Linked DNA regions of Homo sapiens: regions 2, 3 and 4 are each linked to region 1. Evidence: promoter capture Hi-C in 16 types of primary human blood cells and fetal thymus (Javierre and others, 2016). All regions are on one chromosome and are shown on one strand. The core of a region is centred on a gene start or on the middle of the fragment in contact, and the rest is flanking DNA. Distances in the headings are between cores, read along the strand shown. Region 1 holds the start of PCGF1 (polycomb group ring finger 1). Region 2 overlaps HK2 (hexokinase 2). Region 3 holds the start of MOB1A (MOB kinase activator 1A). Region 4 overlaps SLC4A5 (solute carrier family 4 member 5).

Evidence for each region. The method cuts DNA at HindIII sites, captures the fragments that hold promoters and counts their contacts. A CHiCAGO score of 5 or more calls a contact.
Region 2: a contact is called between a fragment that was not itself captured here and the fragment with the promoter of PCGF1 in region 1, in 2 of 17 cell types (M0 macrophages and naive B cells). The highest score is 5.6, in M0 macrophages.
Region 3: the fragment with the promoter of MOB1A here is called in contact with the fragment with the promoter of PCGF1 in region 1 in 3 of 17 cell types (total CD8 T cells, activated CD4 T cells and fetal thymus); the score reaches 7.1 in total CD8 T cells.
Region 4: a contact is called between a fragment that was not itself captured here and the fragment with the promoter of PCGF1 in region 1, in 1 of 17 cell types (activated CD4 T cells). The highest score is 6.5, in activated CD4 T cells.

Annotation. Positions count from the first base shown.
Region 1 is chr2:74,506,359-74,509,075 of GRCh38, forward strand. It overlaps PCGF1 (polycomb group ring finger 1), which reads right to left and starts at 1,337. Exons shown (of 9, transcript NM_032673.3): 1 at 1,218-1,337; 2 at 684-789; 3 at 374-526. The coding sequence starts at 1,310. RefSeq lists enhancers at 600-1,530, 1,167-1,346, 2,087-2,146. The HindIII fragment of the contact is 5,812 bases long and covers 1-2,717 here.
Region 2 is chr2:74,873,567-74,876,283 of GRCh38, forward strand. It overlaps HK2 (hexokinase 2), which reads left to right. Exons shown (of 18, transcript NM_000189.5): 6 at 278-377; 7 at 700-883. Among named protein-coding and RNA genes, the nearest start is that of LINC01291, 34 kb to the right of the region's middle. The HindIII fragment of the contact is 684 bases long and covers 988-1,671 here.
Region 3 is chr2:74,177,564-74,180,280 of GRCh38, forward strand. MOB1A (MOB kinase activator 1A) reads right to left here and starts at 1,316. Exons shown (of 6, transcript NM_018221.5): 1 at 1,098-1,316. The coding sequence starts at 1,111. RefSeq lists an enhancer at 341-1,024 and a silencer at 888-1,077. The HindIII fragment of the contact is 1,935 bases long and covers 649-2,583 here.
Region 4 is chr2:74,236,740-74,239,456 of GRCh38, forward strand. It overlaps SLC4A5 (solute carrier family 4 member 5), which reads right to left. Exons shown (of 31, transcript NM_133478.3): 21 at 2,596-2,717. Among named protein-coding and RNA genes, the nearest start is that of MTHFD2, 39 kb to the left of the region's middle. The HindIII fragment of the contact is 1,210 bases long and covers 792-2,001 here.

The DNA of each region.
Region 1 (2,717 bases), core at 87-2,586:
TGAAGTCAGGAGATTGAGGCCATCCTGGCTAACATGGTGAAACCCCGTCTCTACTAAAAAATATAAAAAATTAGCTGGGCATGGTGGTGGGCGCCTGTAGTCCCAGCTACTCAGGAGGCTGAGGCAGGAGAATGGCATGAATCCAGGAGGTGGAGCTTGCAGTGAGCTGAGATTGCGCCACTGCACTCCAGCCTGGGCAAGACTCCGTCTCAAAAAAAGAAAAAAAAGAATAAAGTATTAGCCCTTCCTCACTTTTTGTCCTTCCCTCATCTTTGGCCTTCTGCCTACGTGAGTCCTACCAAACCCGTCACCTCAAGCTGCCACTCAGCAATTAGTCCTCAAGAGGCCCCTCAAAGTCAGGTTGGTGACTCACTGTCTTGCAAGCCAGGCACCAGCTTATACACGATGTCCTGCATGACCCGGTCCAGTTTGAGGTTGAGCAGTGGCTGTGTCTCGTGGATCTTAATGTTGCACATGGGGCAGTACTTGCTAGTTTGGAGGTACTTCACAATACAACTCTTGCAGACTGCAGGAAAAGAAAAGCAGATTCTCAGGCCCTCTGGAAACTGGATTCATGGGCTGGGTGGGGTGCCTGGATGCGTGAGGCAGGCCGCACAGAAGCTGGCAGTCAGCTTGGTGAAGACTAGGGACTGGAAGAACTAGGCAGTCTCCAAGGCACTCACAAGTATGAAGACACTCTGTGATGGTGGTGGCATCCACGAAGTAGCCGGCGCATAGGCAGCAAACAATGTGTTCATTCAAGTCTTTGATCTTCACTCGAACCTCCTCCTGAAGATACACCCTCCGTCACCAATCATCCACCCTCAAACCCCAACCCGTGCGCCTTCCCACCTTGGGGGTCGCCTCCTTCATCACACTAGACGGCCAAGCCCCGCGCCCTGCGCCATCAGCCGGGGATTAGCTCCTGGGGGCTGGCACTCCCCCTCCGCCCAGCAGAGGGCTCCGCGCACAGCGGGGGCTTCCCTCACGTGGACTCGCCTGACCCTCCTTTCCCAGGGGAGACTACACAACGTCGGCGACACAACGCGCAGGCGTCCTAACCGGAGTTTGGCAACCCGATCGCAACCACGCAGGCGCACTGGGCACTCTGTCTCTGCGCAGGCGCACTGGGCGCCCGGCCAGCCACCGCCCGTCCTTTAGCCCGCCCCAATTCGCACCGCTGGCCGACCACAGCAGTAACCCTGCCGCCCTTGCACCTCGTTCCGTAGCGGGTCCATCTTGTACACTGACTGGAGCTGGTTCCGAAGCCTCATCGCGATCGCAATCTGGCCCCCCTGAGGAGACGCCATCTTAAAGGCTGATCCCAGCCGGCCACTTCCGGTGCCGCCTGCAGGGCGGGACTTGTCTCCCAGCAACGAGGTTCTAGGTCTTTTCGGATTCGCTCACCCTCTGTAAGGCCCCGCCCACGTCCCTTTCTCCCTGTGTGCTCACCTGAGCCCCACCGGCCCCTCCCCTGCTCAATCCGTAATTAAGGAGTGGGGGGGGGGGAGCACAGGGAAGGGTCTTATCTCTTCAACCTCCTGTAGAAATCATCATAATAGGCCCTACGCGACCTCAAGACTAACTTTCGGAGCCTGCGAAAGACTGCCCCCTCCTACCCCCAAAGGCCTGGCAGTCTGTGCCCGCTACCCGCTCAGGGTCGTCGGTCTTCTGTGACGACGACCCTGCTGAAGAAGCCCCTCCTGGGTCCTCTCCTCGTAATGCCGCCCTGTCGGCGTCCGCGTAGCGGAGCTTCGTCCAGATGGCGGGTCTTCTCCCGGCTTCACGGAGGGAGTTTCTTGGGCTTTGCAGAGTCTCGGAGAGGGTGCCGGGGGATGGGGAGTGAGAGACCCCCAGGGACTTGGTAGTGATCTTATTCCCCCATTCTCCCCCCTGCTGCCGGGGATGGGGGGGGCAGGCCCTGGTTAATGATGATGATTTAATCATCGGCGCCTGCGGAGGCCTGGGACAGACTAATGCAGAGCAGATGCCGAAGGAGGAGGGGAGGACGACTAGGACACTGCCACACACAGACAGGCTTAGGCAGCGAGCGCCTGTAGTAGCATAGGCCCAGTCCCGCACTTGGGGACTACGCGGGGTGCTCGCTCGAGAGCTCTACACCGCCGGCTCTGGGTACTTAAAAAGGGATAAATTTGCTATGAGGTATTAACATCAAATGCAACTGGAGATACGAGAAGGGAGAGATTCCAATGGAGACCTCAAAAAAGGCTTTCTGGAGAAAGTGGGACTTTGGGCACAATTTAGACTTGGGGGAGGGGGTGGAAGTGTGGTGAAATAGAAAGGACGTGGAGGGGAATGACCAGAGGACAGGAAGGTCAAGATGTAGATTTGAGAGTGGTAATAGAAAAAGCAGGGCCATAAAGAGTTGCGATTTTTAGCCTGAGGGCAATTGGGAGCTAGCGGACTTTTTTGAAGGGAGGTTATCCTGTGAAAGCGACATTTTTGTTCATTTCTCTTCAGAGTGAATTGAAGTGAATATGCAGCAAGAAGTTATGAGATTAGTGATTAATCAATTATTCGTTACAGCCCCTGTTTACCTACTTCCCTGGTCCGAGCCACTATCATCTGTCCTCTGTAGTGGCCTCTTGACTGTTTTCCTTGAGTCCCCCTTCGCCTGTTCTCAACATCACAGTTGAGTGCTGTTTCTCAGAGCTAGTGATTCTGATAAAACATGAAACACAAAGGACAAAGGACAA
Region 2 (2,717 bases), core at 80-2,579, 370 kb after region 1:
AATCTTAGCCTTGGCACAAGAAAAGCTCTTTAGTTCTTAACCTGAAGAAGACTTGAATGTGATTTCCAAGTAAGAAAGTTGGAATGATGTTGACATGGGAGTGGAATGGCTCAGAGAGAGAATGAATTAAAAGTCTTATCACAGGAGGAGTTATGGGGAGGGAGGGGGGAGAGAGAGAGAAGGAGGAGGAGGAGGAGGAGGAGTGATATATAGCTGGTGTTAGGAAAGTCGCCCTCTGTGATGATGAAGGTCAGAGCCCTCCCATTTGTCTCCACAGGACTTTGATATCGACATTGTGGCTGTGGTGAATGACACAGTTGGGACCATGATGACCTGTGGTTATGATGACCACAACTGTGAGATTGGTCTCATTGTGGGTGAGTGAACACCGTGCATGAAGGGCCCGTGCTGGCCAAGGGATGGGGGTGTGGGCTGGAAAGGGAGAAGGGGCCCATGGGCTGGGTGTTCCTTTGTAGTTCATATTAGAAGATAATGGTCCAGTCACTTTGGAGAGCCGAGCAGGGACTCATGGAGTTGGGGGTGGCAGAAGATTAGACCATGTATTGTGATGCCCCCAGAGTCTGCAGTGAGAAATCCCAGCCATCCTGGCCGGGCAGTCTCGGGACAGTAGTATAAGAGGGAAGAGGGGTGGGAAGGGGCCGGAGCAGGCGTGTGCATAGCCGTCCCTTGTTTTGGCAGGCACGGGCAGCAACGCCTGCTACATGGAAGAGATGCGCCACATCGACATGGTGGAAGGCGATGAGGGGCGGATGTGTATCAATATGGAGTGGGGGGCCTTCGGGGACGATGGCTCGCTCAACGACATTCGCACTGAGTTTGACCAGGAGATTGACATGGGCTCACTGAACCCGGGAAAGCAACTGTGAGTAGGCCCTTCCTGTGCGAGTGGGCTTGGCGGGGGCCTGGAGCTGAGTCTGGGGCTGGTCGGGGCCAGGGGGTTGTTTCTTTACAGTCTTACATCCCCAAAGCTTGCCAAGGTGGCCACTGGTCATAGGAATGTCTGTGACTATAAATTGCTGAGAGGATCTAAAACAGAGAGCAAGCGGATATACCAGATTATAGCTAATAATGTGTTTCCTTCACAGGAGTCATTTTGGAAGGTTCTATTCTGAGTGTAAGTGGGTGGCCCTGCTCTTTCTTTCCACCTTCTATTTGTAAATTGTCCATGGGAACTGTGAGCCACCTAAGGAAAGTTGTGTTGAGGTGGCCAAGATTGGGGTCTCTGAAAGCTCCTTTCATAGCTCCAACTCCATCACCACCCAGAGGACAGGCTGACAGCTGGCTGCTCATTGCTGCTCCCTGGGGTCCCAGGGCCTCCTGCTGCAGCTGCAGGCAGACCCATGGCCCCTGGAGACATTGGCTGAGGAGCTTCCTTGGCCTCCTTCACTTGGACCTTGGCCCAACTATGTCCTGGGATGGATTGGAGGAGGGGCGTCTAGCATTTTGGATCCTGAATATTGTATTCTCCAGCCTGGCCTGCCTTTGTTTTTAGTTGCTTTTATCTCTTACAAAACCTTATTTCACCCTCACAAACATTTGCCAAATGTGCGTGTGAAAGATCTTGAAACAGGGATTGCTTCAAGGTCTGAAGCAGTTGCAAAATATTTTGAGCAATACAGATCATCTCTGGTCTTGTGACTGTTGTAGAAAAGCTTTTCGTGCAGATCTCTACTTGGACAGGAAAATTGAACCCTATAAATCAAGTCAGTGGTGGGTAACCCAGGAGAGTCCTTGCTTTCGTTTTTTTTTTTTTTTTTTTGAGACAGAGTCTCTCTCTGTTGCCCAGGCTGGTGTGCAATGGCGCAATCTTGGCTCACCGCAATCTCTGCCTCCCGGGTTCAAGCGATTCTCCTACCTCAGCTTCCTGAGTAGCTGGGATTACAGGCGCCTGCCACCACGCCCAGCTAATTTTTGTATTTTTATTAGAGACAGGGTTTCACCATGCTGGCCAGACTGGTCTCGAACTCCCGACCTCAGGCGGTCCGCCCTCCTCGGCCTCCCAAAGTGCTGGGATTACAGGCGTGAGCCACCGCGCCCGGCCTGAGAGTCCTTGCTTTGTCAAAGCATGGTTTATTTATCTAAGTCACAAGCTTGTTTCACATGTTGAAATGAGTCCTTTACTTGAAATTTCTGAGGATCATACTGGTTGTGTCTGCCATGGCTGATGAGAGGTTTATGAGCTGAAAAGTCACTCAGTGCCTGCCTCCATGAATGAGGCACACCCAAGTCATTCCGAGGAACTAAAGGCCCTTTCAAATGTCAAAAGACAAATTTGCCAGCCAGACCATGACAGCACACCCCCGGCTTATCCTTTGACACCCACCAAATTGTCATCCATGGTAGCCCTGAAGTCACTACAGACAATTTTTGTCCCCTCTAATATATTTCCAAGTAAGTATCTTCCAAATGTTGACTGGAACAAAGTGTTTTTAAAAACTAGAATAAAAACTTAGCAACACGGAGTTCCTTACTGTTGAAGCCAGGCTCCCATCCACGCTGGTTTCCTTCTCCTGAAGCTCTGCCTGTGTGGGTGCACTAACATTTAAAATGCGCGCTGTCATCTTCACAATTTTGCCAGCTCTCAGTTAGCCCTGATGCTGCTGTACTCGGCCTTGGGTCTTGAGCAGGCTGCTTCCTGGAGGCCTGGGTTTCCTCTCGGAAAGGTAACCTTGGAATCCCTTCCACATCTCAGTCCT
Region 3 (2,717 bases), core at 66-2,565, 330 kb before region 1:
GAGACGCAGATAAACATATTCTGAGTAGTGCTATTTTATAATAGTAAATACTGGAAGGAATCCCAGTTTCTCACAATAAAGTGGGTAAACTCTGGTTATAAAAAATAAAAAAAAAACTATATAGTGTTTTTATATTGTATTTAATAAAAATGTCAAGCATGTGGATTACATCCATAACTAAAATTGGATAATTATTCAATCACAAAACACACATTTAAGCAATATACAAGGTAGAGAGAGACACCTGAGAATAAAAAATACTGTGCCAGAGCAATGCTTCTCAAACCTTAATGTGCATAAGAATCATCAGGGAATTTACAAGCTTTTTCATTTTAGCCTTGTTTGGTTGGGCTCAGGCATTATCTCTAAAATGAGATTCTAAGGTATGCCTATCAAGTTAATTGCTGTAGTGCACTAAAATGGCAATACTGTGTTTCTGCAATGGGACTATGAATTTGTTTTAACTTTCCAAATTATTTATAATACTGCAATGTACTATATAATAATGCTGTATGGTATATTACATAATGATTAAAAACACAGGATTCTACCGAGGACAAGAGAAGTTGGTTAAAATCAAAGCCAGTAAGTGGGCAGAATCAGAACTGGACAGAACGATCCGACTCCAAGGCCAGCATCTTAACTTCAAGCTTCTCAAACTGCGGCAACGCACATTCTCCTGGGGCGGCATTTAACACCGACAATAATGAAACTGGACCTATAACCGAGCAACGAGTTAAGTCGGCAAGGACGGTTTCTAGAAGCTCGAGACAAGAGAAACTGGGGGCTCGCGGCTCCGCCCCCAGATCGTCTCCCCGCCCTCGGGGGCGCTCGGGCGGAAAAGTTTGGAGGCGCGACGGCCCCGGGGCCTTTCTACTCCCCAGCCTTCACGCTCCGTTTCCTTTACTTCGACCTTCATCTCTGTCGGCCTCTCCCAACATCTCGGCCTCCCCCGCGGACCCGAACAGAGGCAAAACAAACGCCAGCTACCCCGCCCCCGCCTCGGCCCCCAGGCCGAGCCCTCGCCTCAGGTCCGGGGAGGCCTCCCCCACAACCTCGGCCCGCAGGCCCGGCGCCCGCGGCCCGACCCCACTCACAAGAGGAAGCTCATCTTCGGTCCTCAGAGGGGAGGCGAGGGGCCCCTGGCCCCCGCCTGGATCAGGATTCGGAGCTGGCTAGAGGGAGCGGACCGTCCTTAGCTCACGGGCAGCGGAAGCCGGGCCGCCGCCGCTCGGAGCCGGGTTTCTGGCCGCTGCGAGCCTTTGCAAACCTCGGCGCCCGCCTTGCCCGCCTACCCCACCTCGCAGACCCGAAATGCGGAACCAACAAAATCTCGCGAGCTAAGGTTTCGCTGCGCCGGGAGGGACTTGTCGCGCCCCCTTTCGCTCCGCCTCGTCCTAGAACTCGGCCAATCATCGCTCTCCAAGCCAGGACCTCCCTCCCCCGGAGGCGTGGCGAGGATGGCGGTCCTGCGGAAGGGGCAGTGGCTGGTCCTGCTCTTAGAGTATCTTGGTGCTGCTGGGTTTCGATCCCGCTCCCTAGGTTATGCAGGGACCTCTATAAGCGCTGCGTACTCCTGCAATTTTTAAAATTGTTAATTTAATTTTTACTTGAAATATATTCACATAGCATAAAATCTGTCCTTTAAACATGTACCCTCTAGTGGTCTTTTTCGGTTTTTTCTTTCTTTTTTTTTTTTTTTTCTGAGGTGTCTCGCTCTGTCGCCCAGACTGGAGTTCACAGTTCACTGCAGCCTGGACTTCCTGGGCTTAAGTGATCCTCTCGCCTCAGCCTCCCGAGTAGCTGAGACCACAGGTGCCTGCCACCACGCCCGGCTAATTTTCTCAAAGTTTTTGCAGAGACGAGCGTCTCACTGTGTTGCCCAAGCTGGTCTTGGACTCCTGAGCTCAAGGGATCCTCCTGGTTTGACCTCCCAAAATGCTGGGATCACAGGTGTGAGCCACTGCCTCCGGCTTTGTTTATGTTTTCAAAGTGTGCCAACCATCAGCACTAATTTTTTTTTTTTTTTTGACAGAGTCTCACTTTGTAACCCAGGCTGGAATGCAGTGGTGCAATCTCGGCCCGTTGCAACCTCTGCCTTCCAGATTCAAGTGATTCTCATGCCTCAGCCTCCCGAGTAGCTGGGATCACAGTCGTGCGCCACCACACCCGTCTAATTTTTGTATTTTTTTTTTTTTTTTTTTTTAGTAAAGACGGGGTTTCGCCATGTTGGCCAGGCTGGTCTCGGTCTTGAACTCCTGACCTCAAGTGGTCCACCCGCCTCGGCCTCCCAAAGCTGGGATTACAGGCGTGAGCCACCGCGCCCAGCCTAACCATAATTTTAGGCCATTTTCATCACCCCGAAAAGAAACCCCATACCTATTAGCAGTTACTCTTTATTACCCACCTCCCTCCTCCCAACCCCTGGCAACCACTACTCTACTTTCTATTTCCATGGATTTACCTAATCTGGACATTTCATATACACTGTGAATGGAAGCATACATTATGTGGTCTTTTGTGACTGACTTCTTTCACTTAGCATAATGTTTTAAAACGCACCCATATTGTAGCATGTATCAAAGCTTCATTACTGGCCAGGCACAGTTGTGGCTTACGCCTGTAATCCCAGCACTTTGGGAGTCTGAGGCTGGCGGATCACTTGAGCTCAGGAGTTCGAGACCAGCCTGGGCAACATGGTGAAACCCCGCCTCTAC
Region 4 (2,717 bases), core at 147-2,646, 270 kb before region 1:
CTTGACTTTTTTTGTAGGTTGAAACAGTCAAATATGGGCAACTTCATATGGTCCAACCTAATCAGAGAGTGTCAGTTGCTCTCCAAATTGGATGTATCTGTCTACATTCCCACCTACTGCTTTCCATCTCCAACATCTGGTGTCCCAAGACCTTCATCTGTCTACCAATCTGATGAGTATAAAATGGTGTGGCCTCATTCCTCTCTGCAACCGGAAATTCCAGAAGGCAACTGAGCAATTTTTTTTTTTTTTTTTGAGACAGAGTCTCTCTCTGTCGCCCAGGCTGGAGTGCAGTGGCGCAATCTTTGCTCACGGCAAGCTCTGCCTCCCGGGTTCATGCCATTCTCCTGCCTCAGCCTCCCAAGTAGCTGGGACTACAGGCGCCCACCACAACGCCCGGCCAATTTTTTGTATTTTTAGTAGAGACGGGGATTCACCATGTTAGCCAGGATGGTCTCGATCTCCTGCCTTCGTGATCCGCCTGCCTGGGCCTCCCAAAGTGCTGGGATTACAGGCGTGAGCCACTGTGCCTGGCCCAACTGAGCAATTTTTAAGTAATGTGACGGAAAAAATGTTGTTGGCACAAGAATTTCATGCCACATGAATTACTTTTCATCCTGTAGGCAACAGATAGATACTCTCAGATACAGTGACTGCTTGAGAATTTTTACATAAGAGGAGATTGAGGGATGTGCTCTGGACTGGAAGTGGGCAGGAAGGAAGAGAACTTGTCTTGATGGTGCATTTGTGTTGTAAGCAAACTATTTTTTTACTCAGTTTATATACTGTGAAGCTTCCTAAAGCACCTTTTATTTAGTCTTTAGAAAATCTGGGAAAAATTCAACTATTTATTTCAAAGATTTTATCATTATGATTAGTAGCAGTAGCAGCTGTAATACTTAGTTAAGATGGCTTTAGGAGACTGCTAATGGAGTTTACGGTGGGAAAGAGTTGCTTAAATTCTTCCGAGTACCCCCCACCCCACGGCACAGTTACTGCTTATGTATGCAAGTGCTGTTTTCATAAATCTTTTATTCCAGCCACAAACAGGTAGAAAATAAAATTTAAAACAGCAGTTAGGGCTGGGTGCGGTGGCTCACACCTGTAATCCCAGCACTTTGGGAGGCTGAGGTGGGGGGATCACCTGAGGTAAGGAGTTCAAGACCAGCCTGGCCAGCATGGTGAAACCCCGTCTCAACTAAAATTACAAAAATTAGCCGGGTGTGGTGGCAGGCGCCTGTAGTCCCAGCTATTTGGGAGGCTGAGGCAGGAGAATCACTTGAACCCGGGAGGCGGAGGTTGCAGTGAGCCGAGATCATGCCATTTCACTCCCACCTGGGTGACAGAGTGAGACTCTGTCTCAAAAATAATAATAATAATAAAATAATAATAACATAGCAGTTAGCATTTACGACGGTATAAAAAAATCAAGTACCTAGGAATAACTCTAACAAAAAATGTTCAAGACTTAAAGATCAAAATGTATAAAACATTATGGAGAGAAAGAAGACCAAAATAAATGAAGTATACTGTATTCATAAATCAGAAAAACTCAAAATTTGAAAGACGTTAATTCTTCCCAAACAGAGGCAAAGATAATCCCATCAAAATTCCAACAAGTTTTCATTTTGGTGAAATTTAAGATGATTCTAAAATTCATGTGGAAATGCAAAGGGCCAAGAAAATATTATATAAAAAGGACAAAAGGGGAGAGCTTGGGAGACAAAGATATAAAGACTTATAAGCTACAGAAATGAAGACTGTGATACTGATATATAAATAAACTAGTGAAACAGAATAAAGAACCCAGAAACAGACCCTGTCATATAGGAATATTTGATATATGGCAAAGGAAGTATTGCAAAGCAATGGAGAAAGAATAGTCTTTAAAAAATACTGGAACAATTGACTATATAAAATCACAAAGAAACACTGTCTCACAGTACACATCAGAATCAATTCTGATGGATTGTAGATCTAACATGAAAGGAAAAACAATGAAGCTTTTAGAAGGTAACATACAAGAATATCTGCTGTCCAATATTTGCCTTGAGGAAAGTTTGATATATTCAATTACAATAAAACTAAGAATTTCTGTTAATCAAAAGATGCCATTAAGGATGTAAAAAGAAAAAAACAGTCACAGAGTGGGAGAAGATTTTGCAACACATATAATCACAAAAACATTTCTACCCAGAATATATAACAAACTCTTGCAAATCAGAAAGGCAGACAACCCAAAATGTGCAAGAGATTTCAACAGACACTTCCAAAAAGAAAGGCAATTGGGCATGTGGCCAATAAACACAGGAATAGCTGTATTTTCAACTTCATTAGTCATCAGGGAAATGAAAAATTTAAAAAACACAATGAGATACTACTATAGACAAAGACTAAAGATAAAAGCCTGACAATACCAAGTGTTGTCAAGGGGACCAGCCAACAAGGGAACACAGTTCTCTCTGACTTAACTTGAAAAACCCCAGTGGGCCAGTGCTCGCATGGAGTCCATCCTGTCGGTGGACCAGAACCCTCTCTGGGGGACTCAGCAGCTGTCTGACTGCAGGTCCCCTCCTAACTGCAGGGTGAGCTTACCTTGGTAGGAAAATAGCGGCTGAATTTGAACTTCTTCAGGGTCAGGGTCATGGAGTATGTCCCAAAGAAAAGGATGAAGGACATGAGCGCCAGGTCTGGGATAAACTTGCAGGAATTCCCAA